Linked DNA regions of Homo sapiens: all the other regions are linked to region 2. The links are contacts of gene promoters, found by promoter capture Hi-C in blood cells and fetal thymus (Javierre and others, 2016). All regions are on one chromosome and are shown on one strand. Each heading gives the region's core, a stretch centred on a gene start or on the middle of the fragment in contact. The rest is flanking DNA. Distances are from core to core; before and after follow the strand shown. Region 1 overlaps SIAH3 (siah E3 ubiquitin protein ligase family member 3). Region 2 holds the start of ERICH6B (glutamate rich 6B). Region 3 overlaps SIAH3 (siah E3 ubiquitin protein ligase family member 3). Region 4 has its middle 69 kb from the start of CBY2. Region 5 has its middle 44 kb from the start of CBY2.

What was found. Contacts are between HindIII fragments. The CHiCAGO score rates a contact against its expected background, and 5 or more counts as called.
Region 1: a contact is called between a fragment that was not itself captured here and the fragment with the promoter of ERICH6B in region 2, in 1 of 17 cell types (M1 macrophages). The highest score is 5.2, in M1 macrophages.
Region 3: a fragment that was not itself captured here is called in contact with the fragment with the promoter of ERICH6B in region 2 in 1 of 17 cell types (M1 macrophages); the score reaches 5.1 in M1 macrophages.
Region 4: a fragment that was not itself captured here is called in contact with the fragment with the promoter of ERICH6B in region 2 in 2 of 17 cell types (M1 macrophages and M0 macrophages); the score reaches 5.9 in M1 macrophages.
Region 5: a fragment that was not itself captured here is called in contact with the fragment with the promoter of ERICH6B in region 2 in 1 of 17 cell types (M1 macrophages); the score reaches 5.4 in M1 macrophages.

What each region holds. Positions count from the first base shown.
Region 1 is chr13:45,846,296-45,848,995 of GRCh38, forward strand. All of the region lies in intron 1 of SIAH3 (siah E3 ubiquitin protein ligase family member 3), which reads right to left. Among named protein-coding and RNA genes, the nearest start is that of SIAH3, 4.1 kb to the right of the region's middle. RefSeq lists an enhancer at 714-1,404. The HindIII fragment of the contact is 2,063 bases long and covers 361-2,423 here.
Region 2 is chr13:45,614,333-45,617,032 of GRCh38, forward strand. It overlaps ERICH6B (glutamate rich 6B), which reads right to left and starts at 1,407. Exons shown (of 15, transcript NM_182542.3): 1 at 1,353-1,407. RefSeq lists an enhancer at 1,030-1,531. The HindIII fragment of the contact is 3,697 bases long and covers 1-1,715 here.
Region 3 is chr13:45,823,128-45,825,827 of GRCh38, forward strand. The region is part of intron 1 of SIAH3 (siah E3 ubiquitin protein ligase family member 3); the gene reads right to left. Among named protein-coding and RNA genes, the nearest start is that of SIAH3, 27 kb to the right of the region's middle. The HindIII fragment of the contact is 3,095 bases long and covers 1-2,700 here.
Region 4 is chr13:45,769,860-45,772,559 of GRCh38, forward strand. No RefSeq gene overlaps it. Among named protein-coding and RNA genes, the nearest start is that of CBY2, 69 kb to the left of the region's middle. The HindIII fragment of the contact is 733 bases long and covers 1,040-1,772 here.
Region 5 is chr13:45,745,314-45,748,013 of GRCh38, forward strand. No RefSeq gene overlaps it. Among named protein-coding and RNA genes, the nearest start is that of CBY2, 44 kb to the left of the region's middle. The HindIII fragment of the contact is 3,026 bases long and covers 1-2,700 here.

The DNA.
Region 1 (2,700 bases), core at 142-2,641, 230 kb after region 2:
GCCAGGCTGGTCTCAAACTCCTGACCTAAGGTGATCCACCTGCCTCGGCCTCACAAAGTGCTGGGATTACAGGCGTGAGCCACCGCACCTGACCTAGAAGACCTAACTTCTAGTCTCAATTTTGTCAGTAAGGTCTCCATTCTTTGGGTTGATTCCTTCCACAGGACATTTCTTGTCTAACCAGGTCACTGTTTCCCTTTGGAGGAAACAGAGCTAGTTGGGTGAAGATGACTTTGCTAAGGGTAAAATACCCCCACAGACAGTTAATTTTTTTTCTTGTTGTTAATTGCTAGGAAAATAATCCATCTTACCCAGGGAAGCCATCCAAGTAATTCAGACCTCTCTGCGGATTTCAAAGAAAGCTTTCCGTATCTATTTTCTAATTTTCCCAAATAGTCCCTGCAGGTTGAGGGATCACAGTGAAGAGAATTCCACCAAATTTGCTTCGGGGCTGCTGGATAAATGCAGTACAGAGGTAATCGGCTCACCTCATCATAGCCGCCAGCTTCAGCCTCCCCTACAACTCAATCACCGGCACAGGGCTAACCAAATTACTGCTCCAGGCTCTGGGCCTCCCCGTTATGTGACTCAGGAGCCTCATTTGCAATCACCATTAACCAGAAAAGCCGCACGAATGCTCTGAGCCCACAGAGTGGAGTGTCATACAATATTCACAGAACCCATGGGCTGGAAGAGGCTGCAAAGCCTTTAGAATAATGCTCGCACAGTGACCACCACCAGCTTGGGGTCCCCTTCCTTACCCTTTATCCAGCCCCTCTGGCAAAGTGGCTCCAGACTGGACAGAGAAACAAGACAGTGAAATGCCCAGAGGACTGGGAATGGGACTGTCAGAGGTGACTGTGTGGAGAGGAACTGAGTAACCCACATACCAGCTATTAAACAGTCTTGTTGGAAGCCTTTAACTGCTGTAAAGTAGGTATTCACGCAGAACACTCCAAAGGCCACCTCTAAATCTCTAGACAATGCTCAGGTCTTTACCTCTCATTGAGCCACCTGCTGTGCTGTATGAAACAGAGTTAGCAAACCCCGGGGCAGCACGGGATTTCCAAAGATTATCCCATAAATGGCAAAGGTGGGCACACATCTCACATCTCTCCTTTCCTGGTCTCTGCCTCCTCCTCTTCCTTACAGCTCCCACCCTCCCCACTGCCACTCAATACACATTTATCCACACAAGTTGGTCTTAGAATGGAAGGCACGTGGATGCATCAACAAATGGTACTGAAGTGCCCCAGCTTTAGATTTCATATCTGTCGGGCACTTAAAGCCACGATTGTCCCATATGCCCCTCCCACTCCATGTGTTCGTGTGTGTGTGTGTGTGTGTGTGTGTGCACGTGTGTGTTTCTGTTGCACCTCAAGGTTAATGGGGTTGTCTGGGGTGGTGCAGGCACAGGTTGGAGGTATCAGAGAGGGCCTCATGGAAGTTTGCCAGAAAGCATTTTACTATTCTTCTTTCAGAAACTTGTTTATCAAACGCTGTGGTTAAGAGGAGGAAGTCACTCAGCCAGCCTCAGCCTAGCTACTGCCTGCTTGGGAAGTGCTGATGACTGACCCCAGACCGACCCCTAGCACTACAGAGCCTTCTCTGGAAAAACCTGGGCACAGGGACTGACCGCTCCTCCCCTCAAAGGGCACCTCTGCAGATGGGGCAAAAGAAGGCAGGGCTGCCCAGGGCAGGGCGCTGTAGAAGCAGCTGGCGCCAATGGGAGTGGAGCCAGGAGAGAAAGGCTTTCTTGGTTTAGAAACAAGCAAAGGACAGGAGGGAGAGAGGAGTGCTGAATCAGGACCAGGAGCAGGCGCCCTCATGAGCGCCAGCCTGAAGTCTGCTCGTCACATTTCAATAACCTCTGTGAATGAGGAAGCAGAGGGCAGCTGGCCAAGAGAGCTGGCTCCTTGACGGTCACTTTTCATGGGGTGGAAAGAAGTGGGGGCACCATTTGGAACCCTAATCTGTGCAAGTGGTCCTCAGAGACAGAGACAGGCAGAGACTGAGGGAAATGGTCTTGTTTGCACTCCACTGCCTGGCACTCACTGAAAGCTGAGGTCTCTTATGTTCAAGGCTGGCTACTCTAAATGTCCCTTTTAATTAGGGTGAGCTTCAGGGGTGTAATGGCTTTAACCAGAGGATCTGATGTCCCCAGGAAGGCTCTGCCTTCCATTTAGAAGGAAAGGCATCAGCTTGCTCGAAGGAATCCCAGGTTACTGAGTAATCACCATAATAAGATTGAGAATGAAGGTGACCTATAGAAGCATGGTAAATACACAATTTTCTTTGCTTGGTAAGTGAATTTTGATTATAACTCAGCACTTGCCTCAGTTTCTAAAATGCTGTTGGTTCGAATTCTCAGGAAAGCCCAGGAAAGGATAAAACACATAAATGCTTCCACAAGGAAAAACACAAGCTTCCCAGCCCTCTTTGTAGCTACACGCAACCCATAAAATTGAAAGCAAGGTTGCAGTCTCTCTGTCCTTGGTCACCATTTCATATACTGGCCTGTCATACAAAATGTGGGGAAGCACGGCAGATCAATAGCTATTCTGGGTTAATACTGCCACAGGTTTTATTTTTTTCCTTTAACAAAAGAAGGACTTTCCTCCTCATTACATAGATCACAGCTTATTACGTCCAAGGCATATTTCCGTGGTCTGTTTATGGAAATCAGCGTTTAGAAGGAGA
Region 2 (2,700 bases), core at 157-2,656:
CTTTCTCCTATTGCACTTCTCCCTGGTTTGTGTGTCTGCCTCACCCATGAGACTGTAGCCCGGCACCATGTCAGGCACGTAGCAGGATTTCAACAGAAGGATGTGGATCGAATGGATGATCCAACGGAAGGAGAGGCACACAGGAGGCTGACCACAAATGAAATTTCTGGTTTGGACTTTTCAGCCCCCATCACTTCACTTTCCCTCCTGCTATGGGGGAAACTCAAGAGATGAGTTATGGGTGGGCTAAGACAGCAAGCTGGGAGCTGGTGAAGAAGATGGAGTGGGTGACCCTTGGCTTTCACTGGGCTTCTCCCAGCCGATGCTTGGAAACCCTAGATGGATCAAGGTGAGAAGCCTCATTTCTGTAAAGGACTCCAAGGATTCCATGGTGCTCTGCAAACGTAATGTGTTCTTGTTGCTGTTATCATCTACCATAGCTGTTTATAACCTTGTTCATTAACTTGTGTGATTCTTGGCTGAAGTCTGCTGCTCTCCCCCATGAGGGGAACAACTGATGACCTACTTCTGTGAATTCCATGGTGCCAGGCCTGGGCTGATCTGGATCTACATTAAAACATGCCAGGGGGCAAACATGAAATCAAAATGTTCTGGCAACCCCCTTAGACCAATCAGTGCAGTGTTTAGCACTATAGACACCCAGTGCACTCATTACAACATCATTTCCTAGGACCTTTTTTATAAATAGAATTTCGAATATATTCAGGTTTGAACTTTCAAGGAGGGTGACTTTGAGCCATCACTTGGAACAGAACACTTGTAAAAACACTGACCTTGGTCACTGCTCACATCTCCCTGGAAGGCCAGTTAGGACTGCTGTTTACCCCCCACATTAGAGAGGTAGGGGAAGGAAACAGGGGAAGCTGAGTGACTTGCCTTTGGGCCACAGGAGTCGCTTCGTGGGCAAGGCTGGAGTTTTCGATCTGGGGAATTTGTTCCTGGTTGGGGGACTGGTCTATATTCAGGCTGTCAAGGAAGAAGTCATAGTATCCACACTCGCACTTCCCCCCAGAGCTAGGGGCTCTCTGGAGAGAAAGTGACCCCTTATCCTTTATTTGTAGAAATATCATGACCCAACAACGGCCTTCACAATGGGAAGAAGCTGGGTCGAAGCAGATGTCAGAAAGGCCAAGGGAATAGAGAGGCCGAGAAAGGGCGAGAGAAACAAAGAAGTCTATGTACTTGGCGCTTCTTTGTTGCCCAGATCCTCCACTCTGCTCCCTGCTTTCTCCCTCAGAGAAGGAGGGGGAAGAGGAGGAGGAGAGTGGGTGGAGAGGGAGGCGGAGGAGAAAGAGGAGGAGGAGCGCATTGCTAACGTGCGCAGCCCTTACCCAAGCCAGGCTCCCGCGCGTGCATCCACCGCGATCTCAGGCCCCGGCGTTTGTGGCAGCTCTCGGTTACCATGGGAACCGCACTCCGCAGCCTCCCTGGGCCCCATCTAATCTGCGTGTGTGCGTGGCGGAGAATTCTAAGCCTCTGCACCTGCCCTTGCCTTCCCTTTCCCAGCCTCTCTCCTGGCGGGGAACTGTTTGGACCAGTCGTCAGCGGCGGCCAGAAAGTTTTCCTGCTGTCTGCCTGAAGGTCGCCTGTGTCAGGGGGAAGTTGCAGCCGTGGGGATTGTGTTTCCCTGAATGGAGACAGTACACGTCAGACCTCCAGGCTGGGACTTTCTAGAATCCTGGGGTCCAGTGCTAAGCTTGTGGTGGCTGCGTAGATGAAGAGATGGGACATGTGGCTCTCAAGGCCCTGAATGGGCTCACTGGAGCTGGTCCCCAGGAAAGGAACTGCCCTGAAAGGGATAGAGAGACCCACAAGGGGTTGATCTGGGGCCAAGGGTTGGAGAAAGCTGAGTTCCCATGCCCTGGCCACTGTGAGTGGACTTGCAGGAGTGGCAGAATGGTCAGGTGGGGTGGGAGGCTGGGTTGCAAACCACTTCTATGTAGGCATTCCTGGTCAGTTGTCACAGAGGTTTCAGAAGGACCTCAGTCTTTGAAGTGCTTGCAATTTGCCCTTCCTTTTCTTTCCTTTTCTTTTTCTTCTCATTATACTTTAAGTTCTGGGATACATGTGCAGAACGTGCAGGTTTGTTACATAGGTATACACGTGCCATGGTGTTTTGCTGTACCCATCAGCTCGTCATCTACATTACGTATTTCTCCTAATGTAATCTCTCCCCTTGCCCCCCCGCCCCCGATAGGCCCCAGTGTGTGATGTTCCCCTCCCTGTGCCCATATGATCTCATTGTTCAACTCCCACTTATGAGTGAGAACATGTGGTGTTTGGTTCTCTGTTCCTGTGTTAGTTTGCTGAGAATGATGGTTTCCAGCTTCATCCATGTCCCTGCAAAGGACATGAACTCATTCTTTTTTATGGCTGCATAGTATTCCGTGGTGTATATGTGCCACATTTTCTTTATCCAGTCTATCATTGATGGGCATTTGGGTTGGTTCAAGTGTTTGCTGTTGTGGATAGTGCTGCAATAAACATACGTGTGCATGCGTCTTTACAGCAGCATGATTTATAATCCTTTGAGTATATGCGCAGTAATGGGATTGCTGGGTCAAATGGTATTTCTGGTTCTAGATCCTTTAGGAATTGCCACACCGTCTTCCACAATGGTTGAACTAACTTACACTCTCACCAACAGTGTAAAAGCATTCCTATTGCTCCACATCCTCT
Region 3 (2,700 bases), core at 185-2,684, 210 kb after region 2:
GAATAATAAAAGAATTACAACTCGTATTCTCATGACGCTTTAGAGTGGTGATTTCTTAACTGTAAAGGCACAATCTAACTGCCTGGGGAGCGTTTAACGAAGACCACTGCCTGGCCCAACCCTAGAGTGCTGACTTAATCGGTCTGGGGTGGGCACCTACAGCTGGAGTTCTGTAAAAGCTCCCCAGGCAATTCTAATACGTGGCCAGAGCTGAAAACTGCTGCTTCCGAATTTTTAAAGCACGTGTACACTATTTCAGCTGATCCTCAGAACCACTATAGGCAAGGCAAGTCTGCCCTATTTTCCCAGGCAGGTCTTTTTATAGCATTACTTTAAAAACCTTAAATCTCAGTCTACTTCTGGAGTTTTTCCAATTTTCTTTTCCTTTGTGAAATCTACCGTTGATATGCCTTTCAGCTTTAAAACTCTCCAGTTACCTGAATGTAAACTCTCAGCCCTAGAGAACTCCATCTATTCTGTGATTCTCCAAGCACTTGAAAGATTTTGGTCTCAAAACTGCTATCCAAAGACACCATGAAGCCTGTCCTGCTTCTCATCACTCAGCACTATCCTACCCTACCTTTAAGACAAGGTCAAAAGATGCAAAGGCCTTCAGGGCCAGCAGGCACTGTGCAAGTGTTAATCTGGTGGTTTAGTCCTACAGGCCTGACAGTATAGGGAGTGGTGCTGACAGTGTTTGTCAAAGATCTGGGCTGTGACCTGGTGTGACCTTGGGCAAATTACTTACTGGCTCTGAGCCTCAGCTCTCTCCTCTGTAGTAACATTGGGACTGTATTTTTAAAAAAATATTATTTTAGATTCAAGGGTACATGTGCAGGCTTGTTACATGGGTATATTGAGTGATGTTGAGGTTTGGGTTTCTAGTAAACCCATCACCCAAACAGTGAACATAGTACCAAATAGTCTACATTTTAGGCCTTACAAAGGTCAAAGATCCATTCTCATCTGTTTAATCTTCACCACTCTATAATTAGGGCAATTTTTACAACCCGTTTTACATACTAGGCAAATCTGACTTAGGTTTAAGTGAACTTCAGTTAAAAAATTATACAAGTAAAAACTGGCAGAACTTGGTTTTGAAGTCAATTCCTTTTAGTGCCAAACCCTTTATTTGTCCCACAACGCCACATCGAATTCTCTAAGAGTGTCAGTAATGTTAGCTGCCTCAAAGGGTTGTAAGTTAGATTGAATGTAGTCAGGCCCACAGCAGGCACAGGACCTGCCCCCCTTGCTGCTGTCGATAAAGCTCTGCTATTAACAAAAGCAATAACAGAATATTCAAAGTGGTCTGGGGTAGCCTCCATACCCCTCACCTGTCACTGGCCATTTTCTTCCTTCTTTGTAAGCTGGAAGGCTCTGGGCCTAACCTCATCTAATTAAGGCAGAGTATCTGGGGTTGAGACCCAGGTTTCAGCCCTTCCCCTTGGTTTCAAGCTCCCTAGATGATTCCAACATGCAGGTGGAGTTGAAAACCACTGTGGGGAAAGAGACCAGTGCTAAATGTCTTTGGACCTCCAGACACATAGAGCCTGGCACACAAACAATGTTTTGTGGTATAATTTGTTAAAGCAGCGCATCGGAGTTGGAAAAATCCAGGTTTAAATCTCTATCACTTATCAGAGAAGGGGACTTATTTGCTCTGAGCCTTATTCCTCATTTATTAAAAAACAAAAACCACGAGATTGCGCCACTGCACTCCAGCCTGGGCGACAGAGCGAGACTCTGTCTCAAAAAAAAAAACAAAAAAAACAAAAACCAAAAAACCAAAAAAAGAAGCCATCCTCTACTCTGCAGGGCTGTGCTGAGAAGTGACAGAGAACCAAGGCGTGTGCTAATGTGTCCACTGCTGTGAGTGCTAAAGCGGTATGCAAACGTACGGCAGCATGACAGTATCGTGGGTGCTTAATACATATTTATCGATTTCCACGAGATCTTACTTACCCATCTTTTCTTCACTCTTAAACATGAAGCTGGGGGAAATAAATAAGAAATATAATTGCACCTCACACTTCAGGACTCCCTAGGCATCTCGCATTAATAGGTCTCTTCAGCTTTCCTCTAAGTGCTAATAATTCCTGGGCGTTTTGATGGGAGCGCTTTCTCCCAAAGATAAATTGACCCCAGCTAAGAGCCAAGCTCCTAGCCAAATCTCATTACAATCAGCCTTGATGGCAGACAGGATTCAGAATGTAACAAAATTAGAGCTTTTAAATCATTATCTCGACTCTGGGAGCACTGCGTTAACAGATGGGAATGTGGATGATGGAGAAAAGACCTCACACCACACTCTTCCCCAGAAAACGGATTTCCCCCAAGCCAGGAGCGCAGCCCCCAGCCCTGCCTGGGGTGTGTGCTTAGTGTCACCTTGGAGGGAGTGACATCTGAACTGACCTTTTCACACCTTCGTGAAGTAGTCTTCCTGAGGATCCACTTTTCCCAGCTCACTTTTCTGCAGAAGGTAACCATAGGGGAAAATGTGAAATGCTGAGTCTCTTAGGAAACAACTTGGTGAGCAAGAAGTTACTTGGGACAGTACTTTCTGTTGCTGCTTTCCTGAGCTCTGAGCAGCTTCCTCATCTGTTCGTTCATTCAACAGCATCAGTGCACACTGGGCCCTCATATCATACCTGTTCTGGCTACATCCTCTGTGCCTGTGACATTTCTCCGTTTTGTAGGACA
Region 4 (2,700 bases), core at 156-2,655, 160 kb after region 2:
TCCCTCCACGTCCAAACTGTTGAGTTGCAGCTCTTAATTTGGGAGGCTGGAAATTGAACAATGGCATCGACAGTTGTCAGTTTCCATGTGCAGTTATGTGATGCCTGTTATGTCAAAACTGTGACTTTTTATAGCCTCCTTTCATGAGATTTGTGATGTTCTGTTCTTTTAAAAGGCTCCAAAGGGACAGTATACCTTGATTTAAGAAAGTTCAATATATTAAATCCAGTTTCACAGGAAAGAAATATAGAAGAATGGTTATTCACTTTGCAAAAGAATTCACAATGGGATTCTTAAAGTGATAAATATTATATGTGGCACTTAGCACGTGATTTAGTTCATTGTTTCGGGAATGTGTCTATGGGCAAAAGGCTGTCTACTGGAAGAGTTCTGGTGCTTCTTACTTCAGATACTTCAGCCTTTGCTCCCCAGCTTATGCTGGCATGAGGACCGTCAAGTACTCAGGTGAAAATCCCAGTGGTAGTTGCCTCTACTCCCCAGTTTTATTCCTGAAACTCCAAGTTTCTCATATTTTACTGTGGCAGATAGCATAAATTGGCTCACTTAACCCAGGTTCCAGTGCCCTTTTAATTTGCCTTCCTGAGCTAGAGTGCCTAAAGGCTAACATCCATATTCCCCAGTTTCCCTGGCATTTAGGAATCCTCATATGATTTAGAGACTTAATCTTCTGACAGGCATAGCTGGTTCTTCTGGGGCAGCTGGGGTAGAGTTTCTGCCACTAAAGTTCAGTCCCTCGCATCAAGGTGCCAAGCAGCAGAAAGCAGCAGCAGCGGCATTTCTGCTAGAAGAGGTCTGTGCTGTAGCTCGGTGTTTCCTCTGGCTGCTTTGCCCCTGGCTGTCACTCTCTAGCCTTCCTGTTGTCACAGCAAAGGGAACTTTCTCTCCACCCTCTGAAGGTTGGATAATTGAGTCTGTTGACATAAACTGACAATAGGCAGATTAACAGGGGAAAAGGCATACAAATTTGTTAATATGCAAACACACACAAAATATGAAACTCAAAGAAGGGCCAGATTAAAGCTTACATACCCGCTTCCTAGGGAAGAGGGAAGTGGGGAACATAGGCAATTTTGGAGGAAGAGTAAATAGTCTCCAGGGGATAAGATAGGCCTGAAAAACAAATAATAGCCTGGAACAAAGTTCTTCTGGGCTTGCGGGGAGGTGGTGACAAGTTGTGGGAAGGTGAGGGGCAGAACTGCACTGGGAACAAAGGTTGTCTTACAATGAAGATAAAGCCTCTCAGGTAATATCCTTCAAAAGAATAGATGAAAAGTCTGTCTGGGTGGGGATGTGGTGATGACCTTTGTTTTCATCTTTGGTGATTAATTCTTCCTGGTTAATAAGATTTCAGACAGGGATTAAAGACAATTATATTTCTTTTGGAGAAACTTCCCTCAGTCAAATAAGAAAACTTCACAGAAAGAGAGAGAGAGAGAGACCTTCCCTACCCTTGGGGGAAAAACAAGATAAGAGAGACCCTAATTCTGAAGCAGCTTCTAAGACCTTCCAATTTTCTTTAATTCAGAGTGCTTGGCATGCCAAAGCACCATATATTGTTTTCTGAGCCCCAATGCTATAAATGACCGAATATTTTCTGATTGAACTAGCTAAAGTCGATTTTGTTGTTTGTAACTAAAAACCTTGACTGATATGCCCTCCCTTTCTTGTGTGTCCTGGGCACTCAAACTGAGGACTACTGTACACAGTTGTGCAGATAGTGCACTGTACCATCCAGAGGCACCATTCACATAAGCTTACCAACATTGTCTTATGAATTGCTGTCCTCTTGAAAGGCTGTTTTCTTTCTTTAGGTTCTTTTTTTGCTCCTACTGCCTTAGTTTGGGCCTCTATTTCCACCTGAGTGTGAAGGGAGAGTTTTCTACAAAGATCACAATTCTTTCAGCCCACAAGAACTCCAAGAGATTAAGCTCTTTTGGGCTATTGCTTCTTTTGTCCGCACTCTTAGAACAAAATTTTTGAGGGGTTGGGTATATTAATCATTTATTTTATTTTCCATATTTTATGAGGCTTTGACTTCTTAGGGCCTTGCAGACCTAGGGGGCATACTGCCCATCCCAGGGTTAGCTAATTGCTATCGTGAGTGAACAGTTTACCTGAGAGCATGTATTTAGTACGCAAACCAACCAATCCTGAGTTCGCACCCTCACCATCCTTATTTTATCTGCTCCTACAGTCTGTCCCCCTACCCTAAATTGCCCCAGGGCCAGGAACCAGAAAAATAGAGCTCACCCCATAGCTTAGAGCCTATTTATTGAAACTATCCAATCCTCAGCCTGCTCGGCTGCTTACTCTGTTTCACCCATGCCTTCTGTGAAAACAACAGTAAAGGTTTTGCCCAGGCTTTTTCCTCATTCTGCTGCTTCCTGATTGACCTTGTTCTTCCCTGTGTGGCTCTCATGGTGTGACATGCCCCTTTCTCTTGGAAACTGTAATAAACTTTTCTTTTAAAAGAGGATGTCTCCATGTCTGTCATCTCGCCACATAGTATCATATTCCAAAGTGTTTATCTCTTATCATGAATTGGATTTCCCGAGACAGAGCCCTGACATTTTAACTGTCTTCTGCCTCAGGAAATTTACTTGCAGGATTCCCCAGCAATGCCTTCCTCCTCATTGCTATGATGAAGACTTCATCCAGATGTTAGGGACAGGTCCTGGG
Region 5 (2,700 bases), core at 52-2,551, 130 kb after region 2:
GGGGAGCTCACTCTGTTGGTATCTTTCACTCACTCAGTAACTCACTCTCTTCGATGGGGTCCAAGTAGACCCATGTTGGACTGTGGATGTCCTCTGTTATTAAAAGGGCTGTGTTATTGAAAGGCTTCCATGTGGTTCTAAGAGGCAAGAACTACATATTAGGTTGGTTCTTGTGGTGAAAGTGATTGTGGTGGTTTTAAAATGTGGTCATAAGTTCCTTGGCACATCTCTTATCAAGAGATGGGGGCTGCGTTCTGCCCTTGCACGTGGTATGCTCTGTGACCAATGAGTGGACTGTAGAGAAAAGAACAGTAATGTTACATGACTTCAAAGGGTGGAATGCATCTTCCATCTTCTTTATTGGAAAACTCACTCTAGGAGCCCTGAGCCACCATGTGAAGAGCCTGACTGTCCTGAGACTGCCATGCTGGAGAGGCCACATGGAAACACTCCAAGTGACAATTCCAGATGAATACACATATCCCTAAGACTTCCCAACCCGGGCACCAGACAGTGAATAAGGAAGCCCCCTTGGAAGTGGATTCTCCAGCCTCACCTGTGTCTCTCTACCTTCTGCCCACCTTTGAGTCACCCCAGCTGAGGCCCCAGATATCTTGGAGCAGAAAACCTTCCCAGCTGTGGCCTTTCTGAACACCTGACCTACAGAATCTTTGCACGTAATAAAATAGTTATTATAGGCCACTTAGTTTTGGGATCATTTTGCAGTAATAGATTGTTAGAACAGTGATGTATTCAGAAAATACCAGCTTTGGAGTCAGTTAGACATCAATTCAAATGCCAACTCCCAGTTGGCTATCTCTGTGATCTTGGAGAGTGTCTGATACAGCTTTAAAGAGGGGATAATATAACCTGTATTTCAGGTTGATGTGAGGGTTAAATGAGGTAATATGTCCAAAGCCTATTATATAAGAGTTTTTTAAAAATCTTAACTTTCCTTTTCTTCTCTTCCCTTCCACTTAAGGAAGAAAAAAACAATAACCTAGTTATGTCCATTTTGGAAATGCAAGTGTATCTGATGCATTTTGTGACTCCCATGTGGGTCAGCCTGCATTAGAGCTGTTGGTTTACTTCTCCCTCTGCCCGGCCTGTTCCCCCTGACCTGTGAACTCCGTTTGGCACAGGTCTGCTCTTTTTAAACTTAGAGATTAGCCCAGGGCTGGTTCGAAGTAGTTGCATGATCAATGTTGTCAAAGAAATGTGTGAAGAAATGCTTACAAGTAGAAAGCTGAGCCTGCATGTATGATTTCACAGTGGGATAGGGGAGTGTGAGGAACTGTATCTGTAAGAATTAAATCTGATTTTTTGAAAGTCAGCTCTCAAAGAGACCCAGACTTTGGCACTGACTGCCTGGGGTCAAATCCTGTCTTGGTTCCTTATTGGCTATGTGACCTTAGGTAAGTTACATAACCTCTCCGTGTCTATCTTTTCCCATCTACAAAAAGGGAAAAAAATAATGGTACTTACCTAAGAAGTATATTGTGATGAGTAAACACTATACATCAAGCACCCATAACAGTGCCTGGCTCGTGGTAATGCTATGTAACACTGCTCCTCCTCGTTCATGGACCAGGAGCATCTACATCACCCACAAACTTGTGAGAAATGTAGGAATCTCAGGCTCCAACAGAGTGACCAAAACAGAATAAGCATTTTAATAAGATCCTCAGATGATTCATATGCCTATTAAGACTGGAGAAAGCCTGTTTTTCTAGTAAGCCTTAACTAGTATTATGATGTGGAAGAGCATTGTCATACATTTGGAAAACATCTTCCTAAAAAATTGGTGCAGTCCCAACATGCAGGGTTTTTAAAATGTCATGGACTTGGGATTTAGGCCAAGTGAAGGACAATGAATGCCAAGGGCCACGCCACTGTACGCTTGTCCAGCAACATCCTCTTCTCTTCCCTTCACATTATACTCCATCCTTTAGCACTTCCTCTCTTGTGGCTTGCAGGCAAACACCCACATCTTACCACATGGCTCCTGGTTTATTTCTGGGCCTGAATGCTCTCTGCAGTTCAAGTGTTGTTCATTTCCAGTGCTTAGTCCAGGTAAAGGGAAATGGTATTATCTGCAGTATTCTGGAAGGTTGCTTTGCATTTGTCAGAGGCATTCTCCTTTGTTTTTTGTGTTTTTGTTTTTGTTTTTGAGATGGAGTCTCGCTCCATCATCCAGGCTGGAGTGCAGTGGTGCGATCTTGGCTCACTGCAACCTCTGCCTCCCAAGTTCAAATAATTCTCCTGCCTTAGCCTCCCATGTAGCTGGAATTACAGGTGCCCACCACCATGCCTATCTAATTTTTTTTTTTTTGTATTTTTAGTAGAGACGGGGGTTTCACCATGTTGGCCAGGCTGGTCTTGAACTCCTGACCTCAAGTGATCCACCCACCTCAGCCTCCCAAAGTGCTGGGATTACAGGCATGAGCCACTGTGCCCCAGCCCATTCTCCTTTGTTAACACCTGTAAAATGCACCTGCAATTTTATCACAAACTAGGAACCCATTTAAAAAATGCATTCCTTGTGTAAAGCCTTAGACAGATTCACCAGTTAACACGTTCTGCTGCTCTTAAGCAGAAATAACCATTGTGGTCTATTTGTTGACTGGTTTTCTTAGTAATACATACTTTTGTTAACTACGTGCATCACTGTGGTGACAGTTAATCAGACAGTTTTTGGAC